Regions from separate parts of the Homo sapiens genome. Here region 1 is linked to region 2. The links are contacts of gene promoters, found by promoter capture Hi-C in human tissues and cell types (Jung and others, 2019). All regions are on one chromosome and are shown on one strand. The core of a region is centred on a gene start or on the middle of the fragment in contact, and the rest is flanking DNA. Distances in the headings are between cores, read along the strand shown.

Region 1 (3,733 bases), core at 465-2,964, 360 kb before region 2:
GACTTGGAAGGTATCTGTGGCTCAAGTTCCCAGTGCTCCCACCGAAGAGAATTACTACGGAGGATGCTCTGGGTCCTGAGTCGAGCAAAATGGCACGCCCTATGGATGCAGCCTGCTTCTTTCCCGGCCACCACGCCTGCTGGATGCGCCCACCGAGCAAGTGGTCTTGAGACGGTCATGGGGACGGAAGAGGTTCAGCATCCTGCACGGGCCCTTACCAAGGCTCACTAGGCTGACACCATGGCTGAGCGCCCTCTCTATTGACAAGAGACTTGCACCCAGTCCCTGGGATGGACCAGCTGGCCACCTGCTGGCAGGCTGGTCACACTGCGGAGGGGGCTGAGATTGGCTTTCACTGCACTGACCCATAATGTGGACATGGACCTGCTGGCCCTGCAGGGCACACAGCACTGCTTCCGACTAGGGGACCCCATTCACAGCTAGAGACATGCAGCAGTGTGTTCCCACCTCAGGGCCTTGGCTCTGCCACCTCTACTTGGAATGTTCTCAGTTCCCTCCAGGCTTCTAGAAGCATCTAGGCCAGGGCTCATGACTGGATAAACAACCGAATCCCCACAACCCAAACAAGCTTTTCATTCTCATTTTATTTGGTGTTAAACTTAAGAAAATGTATTAAGACATGACTTACATCCCTGGTAAGTGTGCAGCTCGAAAGACATTCACAGATGGAACACACCAGCCCCCAGATCACAAAGCCAACCATGGCCAGCCCCTCCAGCGCCCCCGGCCCCACAACCAGTGTCCTGACTTCCGTTGACACCATGAGCCTGTCTTTTGTACTTTACACTCATGGAAGGATAAACACTTTCACGTTTTAAAATAAATGTTTACTTTTGAAATGATTCTAGATACACAGAAAAATTGAAAAGACACTGTAGTGTACTCTACACCTTATACCCAGCTGCCCCTAGTAATGACATTTTGCATTACCATGGCACATTTGTCCAAACTAAGAAATGTGGGCTGGCTGTAGTGGCTCACACCTGTAATCCCAGCAATTTGAGAGGTTGAGGCAGGTTCACTTGAGCCCAGGAGTTTGAGACCAGCCTGCGCAACACAGGTAGGCCTTGCCTCTAGAGAAAAGTAAAAAAAAATAGCCAGGCATGATGGCGTGTGCCTATAGTCCCACCTAATCAGGAGGCTGAGGCAGGAGGATTGCTCGAGCCCAAGAGTTCCAGGAAGCAGTGAGCTATGATCGCACCACTGCACTCCAGCCTAGGTGACAGAATGAGAATTTATCTCTTTAAAAAAATTAATTTATCTTGGGTGCAATCCTGTTAACTAAATAATAATGTTAACTATTATCTAAAGTTATTAACGCAGTAATTATATTAACATAGTGAAATTTTTTCAGATTTCATCCTCTTTTGCCTAACTTCTTGTACCTGTCCTGGGATCCCACCTCAGACTCACCCTCTGCCTTTAGGTCACTTCTCCTTAGCTTCCTCCAGAGGCTACAGCCAAACACACACCTGGGCTGAATAGTAGAGCTGGTTGCTGCTGGGTTCCAAACCTCTGCAACATGTTACTGTACTAAGTACTATAGGCAATGGTAACATAATGGCGGCTATTTGTGGGCCGGGCATGGTGGCTCATGCCTGTAATCCCAGCACTTTGGGAGGCCGAGGCGGCTGGATCACCTGAGGTTAAGAGATTGAGACCAGCCTGGCCAACGCGGTGAAACCCCGTCTCTACTAAAAATACAAAAAATGGCTGCCCAGATATCTGCTGGGCATGGTGACGGGCACCTGTAATCCCAAATACTCAGGAGGCTGAGGCAGGAGAATCGCTTGAACCTGGGAGGCGGAGATTGCAGTGAGCTGAGATCGCATCATTGCACTCCAACCTGGGCAACAAGAGTGAAACTCTGTCTCAAACAAACAAGCAAACAAACAAAAACAATGGTGGCTATTTGTGTATTTAAACACAGAAAAGGATCATAAAAATACAGTATAAATGATAAAAAATGGTACACCTGGCCAAGTATGGTGGTTCATACCTACAATCCCAGCACTTTGGGAGGCCATGCTGGGAGGATCACTTGAGCCCAGGACTTCTAGACTAGTCTGGGCAATATAAAAAGACCCCATCTCTTTTGAGATATCAATTTTTAGAGATGGTGCACCTGTATAGGGCAGTTCCATTATAATCTTATGGGACCACCATCCTATGTGCATTCTGGCATGGACTGAAATATCATTATCTGACATGTGATTGCATAAGTAATCTAGAGATGATTTAAAGTCTACGGGAAGATGTACTTAGGCTATATGCAAATACTGCACCATTTTATATCAGGACTTGAACATCTGTGGATTTTGGTATTTGTGGAAGGTGGTGAAACTGATTCCCCTACACACACCGAGGGACAACTGTAAATCTTCCGGGCCCCATAGAAGGCTCAATTCCCTGCACCCCCACCCCCAGATAAGCATTCTAAAGTGTTTGTTCACTTTACCTGCTCATCCGTGAGCCAGAGGGTTCCATCAACAGCTTGGGCTGTCTCAGAGAGACCTGGATTCAATCCCATTCAGCCACTTAGTGTGTCACTTTGGACAAACCATGTAACTTCTCTGAGCCTCAGTGTCCTCATCTGTAAACTGGGTTGATCATGGTCCTTACCTCACAGGGCCACTGTGAGATGAAAGCTGACACCGCGAGTGACACCACTTCTCTCTCCCTCAGACTCAACAGGAAGATGCCTTTGCTGCCCAATGCGAAGGTTATGGGGAGGACGCGAGGCCCCAAGGTTCCCCTGTCCCAGGAGCATAAACCCTGGATTTTTGCTTCCAGAAACAACCACCTCTAGGATGAGGATGGCTCTCAACTCCCCAAAGCCTGTGCTACCACCCCACAAAGGCAGCGTCTTCAGCAGTGGGGAAGGGGCTGCACTGCGCCAGCCTCACCCTGGCCACTGTCTGCCCTCATGAGTCAGAGCCCAGCTAGGTCCTCAAGCAGAGCAGTGCAGAGTCCGGCCCCAGTCCCAGGCTCCAGGCATCCCTGCCACCCCCACCTGCCCCCACCAGCTGCCTCCATCCCTTAGCCCCTGCTTCCCTCCTTCCCAGCTCAGGATGTCTTAGCTCCTTACATGTCCCCATCATCTGTCTCCTCAAGGGGAGTGCAGCACAAGGGCAGGGAACTCGGCCAGTCTATGGCTGAGTCTCCGGTGTCTGGGAGAGATTAGAAGCTCAACACATACTTGCCCAGTGTCTGTGTGCATTTCATCAAGCAGAAGACAGCTTTGGAAATGAGAAGAGACCCTCCTGAGGCGACAGTCCTTAGCTGCCATTTCTCAAGTATTCTTGGCGTGCCACGCACTAAGCTGGACCATGGACATGCGAGCTCTGGAACCCGTGAGGTGCTGTCACTCATGCACAGGTGGGTTGGCTCAGCCCTGGTGCAGTCACATAGCTCCCTGCTAGCTGAGCTGAAATTGGAACCCATTCAGTTTGGCTCTTGCACTGCACAATGGCTCCCCAGCTCCTCTGAGTGAGAACTAAAGCCTTGCAATGCCCTCAGGTCATTGAACCTGGGACTTCTCTTCCTGAGCTGCCTGCCGCTCTTCCCTGCTCACACCAGGTCAGATGCAGACCTCCCCTCTGGGCCTGAAGCATATCAATCATGCTCCTGCCTCAGGGCCTTTGCACAAGCCATTCCCACTGCCCGGAATGCTCCCTGCCCAGATATCTGCTTGGCTGACCCATCACCTCCT
Region 2 (3,996 bases), core at 1,198-3,697:
CCTGCTCTGAATCTTACTCAGGGTTTAAACCACATAAAGCTGTTATTAAAGACCCCTCTAGAAATCAGACAAGAAGAAGCATCCTAAGCTATTTTTTTTCTGATCCTGTTCTTTTTGTAACTAAGGTAAGGAATTGCAAAGGTCAAAATCTGGAGAGCAAATGATGTCATGGATGTCATGAAGTTGCATCAATACCTGATGATGATTTAGCATAACAGTGCAACATATTATGCCAAGAAGCATAATGATGAGCCACCAGGATGTTTTACTGCATTAATTTCATGACTCTTTATTAGCAAATTGATATGCAAAGTAGCTCTCCAATTTTCTACCACAGAGAAGCTGCTGGTTCAGATTTACATCTTTAGCAAAGACACTAAGAAAATCGACAAATTTCTATGGAAAAGTCTTTGATTTAAAAATAGAAAAGGAGGCTGGGCACGGTGGCTCAAGCCTGGGGTGGGGCAGGGTATCGCTTGAGACCAGGAGTTTGAGATCAGCCTGGGCAACATCGGTGAAACCCCGTCTCTACTAAAATTACAAAAAAAAAAAAAAAAAAAAAAAAATTAGCGGGCGTGGTGGCGCACACCTGTAATCCCAGCTACTCAGGAAGCTGAGGCAGGAGAATCGCTTAAACCCAGGGGATGGAGATTGCAGAGAGCCGAGACTGTGCTACTGCACTCCAGCCTGGATGACAGAGTGAGAAACTGCAAAAAAAAAAAAAAAAAGAAAGAAAGAAAGAAAGAAAGAAAGAAAGAAAGAAAATGGTCAAATAATAACCTAAACAGTTGTCATTTTAACAATGAAAAGCTTTTTAAGATACGCAACATGCCTATGGATCAATGTAGATTGAATCATCTATTTATACTGGCTTGTCAAAAGCAAACAGTTACTGGGTATAAAATGACAACATACAATAGAAAAGACACCCAATCAGATTACACACGTGAATACACTCAAAGTTAGCAATTTAACACAGCATCACTAATGGCCATAAGATATACAGACTTAATTCTAAATATTCAATTCTAAATGATGGTACTTCCCCCAAATTTTCCTTGCCTCTTTAAATCCATGATGTCATCATTCTTAAGCAGAAGTAAAGCCAATTTGTTACAAAAGATATTTTGGTGTGTCCAAGCAAAAGCAATCGCCTCAACAATTCTGCATAGCACAAGTTCAGTGAAGCCATCATTCCTCAAGAAAGAGACCACAAGGCTTCAAACCGACTTCCCTACATGACAGAAACACAATCGAAGTCTCCCAATTAGCATTTAAACAGCAATAAAAGTTGTTCTCAAAAAGGAACAACATAGTTTCAACGTCGGGGCCAGCAACTGCCAGCAAGTAAAACTGGTAATGTGTCAGAATCTTCATCTAGATCGATCAGAATCCCACCACAGAAAAATCCAGACTCTGGCAATTAAGAAATGAGGCTTTTATTTTCCTAACAGAAATCGGGAGATTTAACAGACAAAGCAATTGGTTATTCTGAATCTTAACAAACCGAAGGTTTCAAACGAACTCAGCGCTGAAGTTACTCTGCAGCGACCATCAAGATCTCACAATCGTTTTCTCTTCGCTTACAAATTCGTTCCCACCCTCCACCGTTCCCTTTGCACACACAATTCTCGCCAAGAGAAGCCTTCCACAGTCACAGCATGGATTGCTGTCTCAAGCAAGGAGATCCGCAGTTCCCATTTCTCTAAGGGAACACTCAACAAGCTAGGGGATAGGAAAGGCCTTTTGTGTTTTATTTAACGTAAACCAATTCCAAAATTATCCCTTTGCAGCTGCAGGTTCAGAGATGCTAGCCCCCAGCCGCAGCCCCAATTTTGATGGGCACCCGACCCCCGACTCCTCTCTCGCAAAGGAGTGAAATGTTCGGAGGAGCGATGAAAGATTACCTGACACCCTAAAGCCATCCTTGCCCGGGCCACACACCCCTTCACTGCCCGGGTGAGGGGACGAGAACCACCCTGCTGAGGAGAGGGGGTGGGTTCGCTCCCAACCCAAGGGCTGGCTGGAAAGGAGCTGTCCTCCTCCTCGCCTCACTCGAGGACGGCGATAGCAAGTCACCCTGCCCAACCAGGACCGACCCCCGCGTGGGATACGGGGCCTGCGTCAGACCCCGGGCGCCCGCTGCCCCTTGCCAGTCCCGGGCATAAAGGGCAGAAGGCGCCGGCTCCCCTCTGCGGCCCGGGGAGGAGGAGAGGCCTCACCTGGCCCAGCCCGCTCCACGCTCTCGGGTTCGCTCCGCTGGCGACGGTAATGAGGGAGCCAGGGACAGGGCCAGAGCAGAGGCGCTCTGCCTCAGGCCGCGACAGCCGTGCTCGGGGCTCCTCACAGCTGGCGGGACCCCGAGCCGCCCGGAGCCGCCATCTTCCTCCACTCAAACGCCGCCGCCGCCGCAGCTGCTGCTGCTCAGGCCGGGAGAAGACAGCGCAGAGCGCGCATGCGCCGGGGCGGGCGCGGCGGACGCGCGCGCACTCACGTCAGCGCGGCGGGATGGCGAGGGGCGGCCAGGGGGCGGCGCAGTGTTGAGAAAGGCCGTGGTCACAGGCCGAGGTTCTGTGGAGGGTGGAATGCGCTCGGGGGAGCTAGGCCTCCGCACCCGCCTTCGCCGCGTCTCTAGCGTCGACCTGATAGCCGCACCCACCCTCCGCTGCACTGTCTGGGGCAACTGGGTGGTTTTCCCGGTGGTTTGAGACTAACATTTAGCCAGGAATTAACTCACTTCTACCCCGAGGGCCCGATGAGCAGAGAGGGCTGTGGCGGATGTGAGTGCTCTTGGATATCGCCAAGGGGAGGGAAACTGTGCTTGAGGTGTGCAGGAGAAGTCTTCCCTTAACCGTAGCCTCGTAGCAACCACTGTGAGTTCTTACTAGCTCCACTTTTCAGATGAGGAAACTGAGGCACAGAAAACGATCACTTATTTGCCCGGAGTCACACACCTATCAGTGGAGGTGGGGCGGCGCGGGAAAGAGGATTTAAACTCAGGCTTGTCTGGTTCCCAAGCTCCTTTACTTCCTACTAGCTAGGTTATAGGATCCAGCAAAGTCCCCCTTCTCAAGGGAGCAACCTGGTGTGTAGGTGAGAACCTTCATGAGCCCAGCCCTACAGCATGTGGTCTAAGGAAATGCCAGATACAGAGTCAAAGGCTTCAGTCTAAACTCTGTAAGCCAAAAAAACAAAACAAAACAAAACAAAAAACTAAGCCCCCACCCCCCCCCCAACACCAAACCATCTGAACGGACTTCCTCCTAGGCCAGGGCAGTCTAAAATGTAACCAACCTGAGAGACTGGTTCAGGCCATGACGGGAAGCAGGACATGAGACATGCCTCATTACATCCTTCAGCATTGACATCAACACAACAGACCTTAAGACTGGTAAGAAACATTTACAATCTGTTCTCTCTGGAGCCCACCTGCCACTTGGAGGCTTCACGTGCGTGATAAAACTTTGGTGTCCACAATCCCTTATCATAACCCAGACATTCATTTCTATTGATAATAACTTTTTTTTTTTTGAGACAGGGTCTAACTCTGTTGCCCAGGCTGGAGTCCAGTGATGAGTTCTTGGTTCGCTGCAACCTCTGTCTTTCAGGCTCAAGCTATCCTCCTACCTTAGCCTCCTGAGTAACTGGGACTACAGGCGGGCACCACCATGCCTGGCTAATTTTTCCATTTTTTTTGTAGACACAGGGTTTCGCCATGTTGTCCACTCTCATCTCAAACTCCTGAGCTCAAGTAATCCACTTGCCTCGGCCTCCCAAAATGCTTGGATTACAGGCGTGTGCCACCGCACCAGGCCTATTGATAATAACTATTTCAACTCATTGCCAATCAGAAAATGTTTAAATCTGCCTATAATGTGGAAGCCCCCACTTCAAGTTTCCGGTCTTTCTGCACCGAACCAATGTAGTTTTTATTTATTTATTTACTTATTTTTATTTATTTGTTTATTTTTTTGAGACTGAGTCTTGCTCTGTCGC

What was found. The method cuts DNA at HindIII sites, captures the fragments that hold promoters and counts their contacts. A contact is called where the count stands out against the background at its distance.
Region 1: a fragment that was not itself captured here is called in contact with the fragment with the promoter of FBXO42 in region 2 in 2 of the 25 tissues and cell types used here (adrenal gland and thymus).

What each region holds. Positions count from the first base shown.
Region 1 is chr1:15,994,414-15,998,146 of GRCh38, forward strand. It overlaps the pseudogene TBC1D3P6. Among named protein-coding and RNA genes, the nearest start is that of SRARP, 8.0 kb to the right of the region's middle. RefSeq lists an enhancer at 1-323 and a silencer at 230-379. The HindIII fragment of the contact is 7,612 bases long and covers 1-3,733 here.
Region 2 is chr1:16,350,033-16,354,028 of GRCh38, forward strand. FBXO42 (F-box protein 42) reads right to left here and starts at 2,448. Exons shown (of 10, transcript NM_018994.3): 1 at 2,223-2,448. RefSeq lists an enhancer at 1,713-2,487. The HindIII fragment of the contact is 10,214 bases long and covers 1-3,996 here.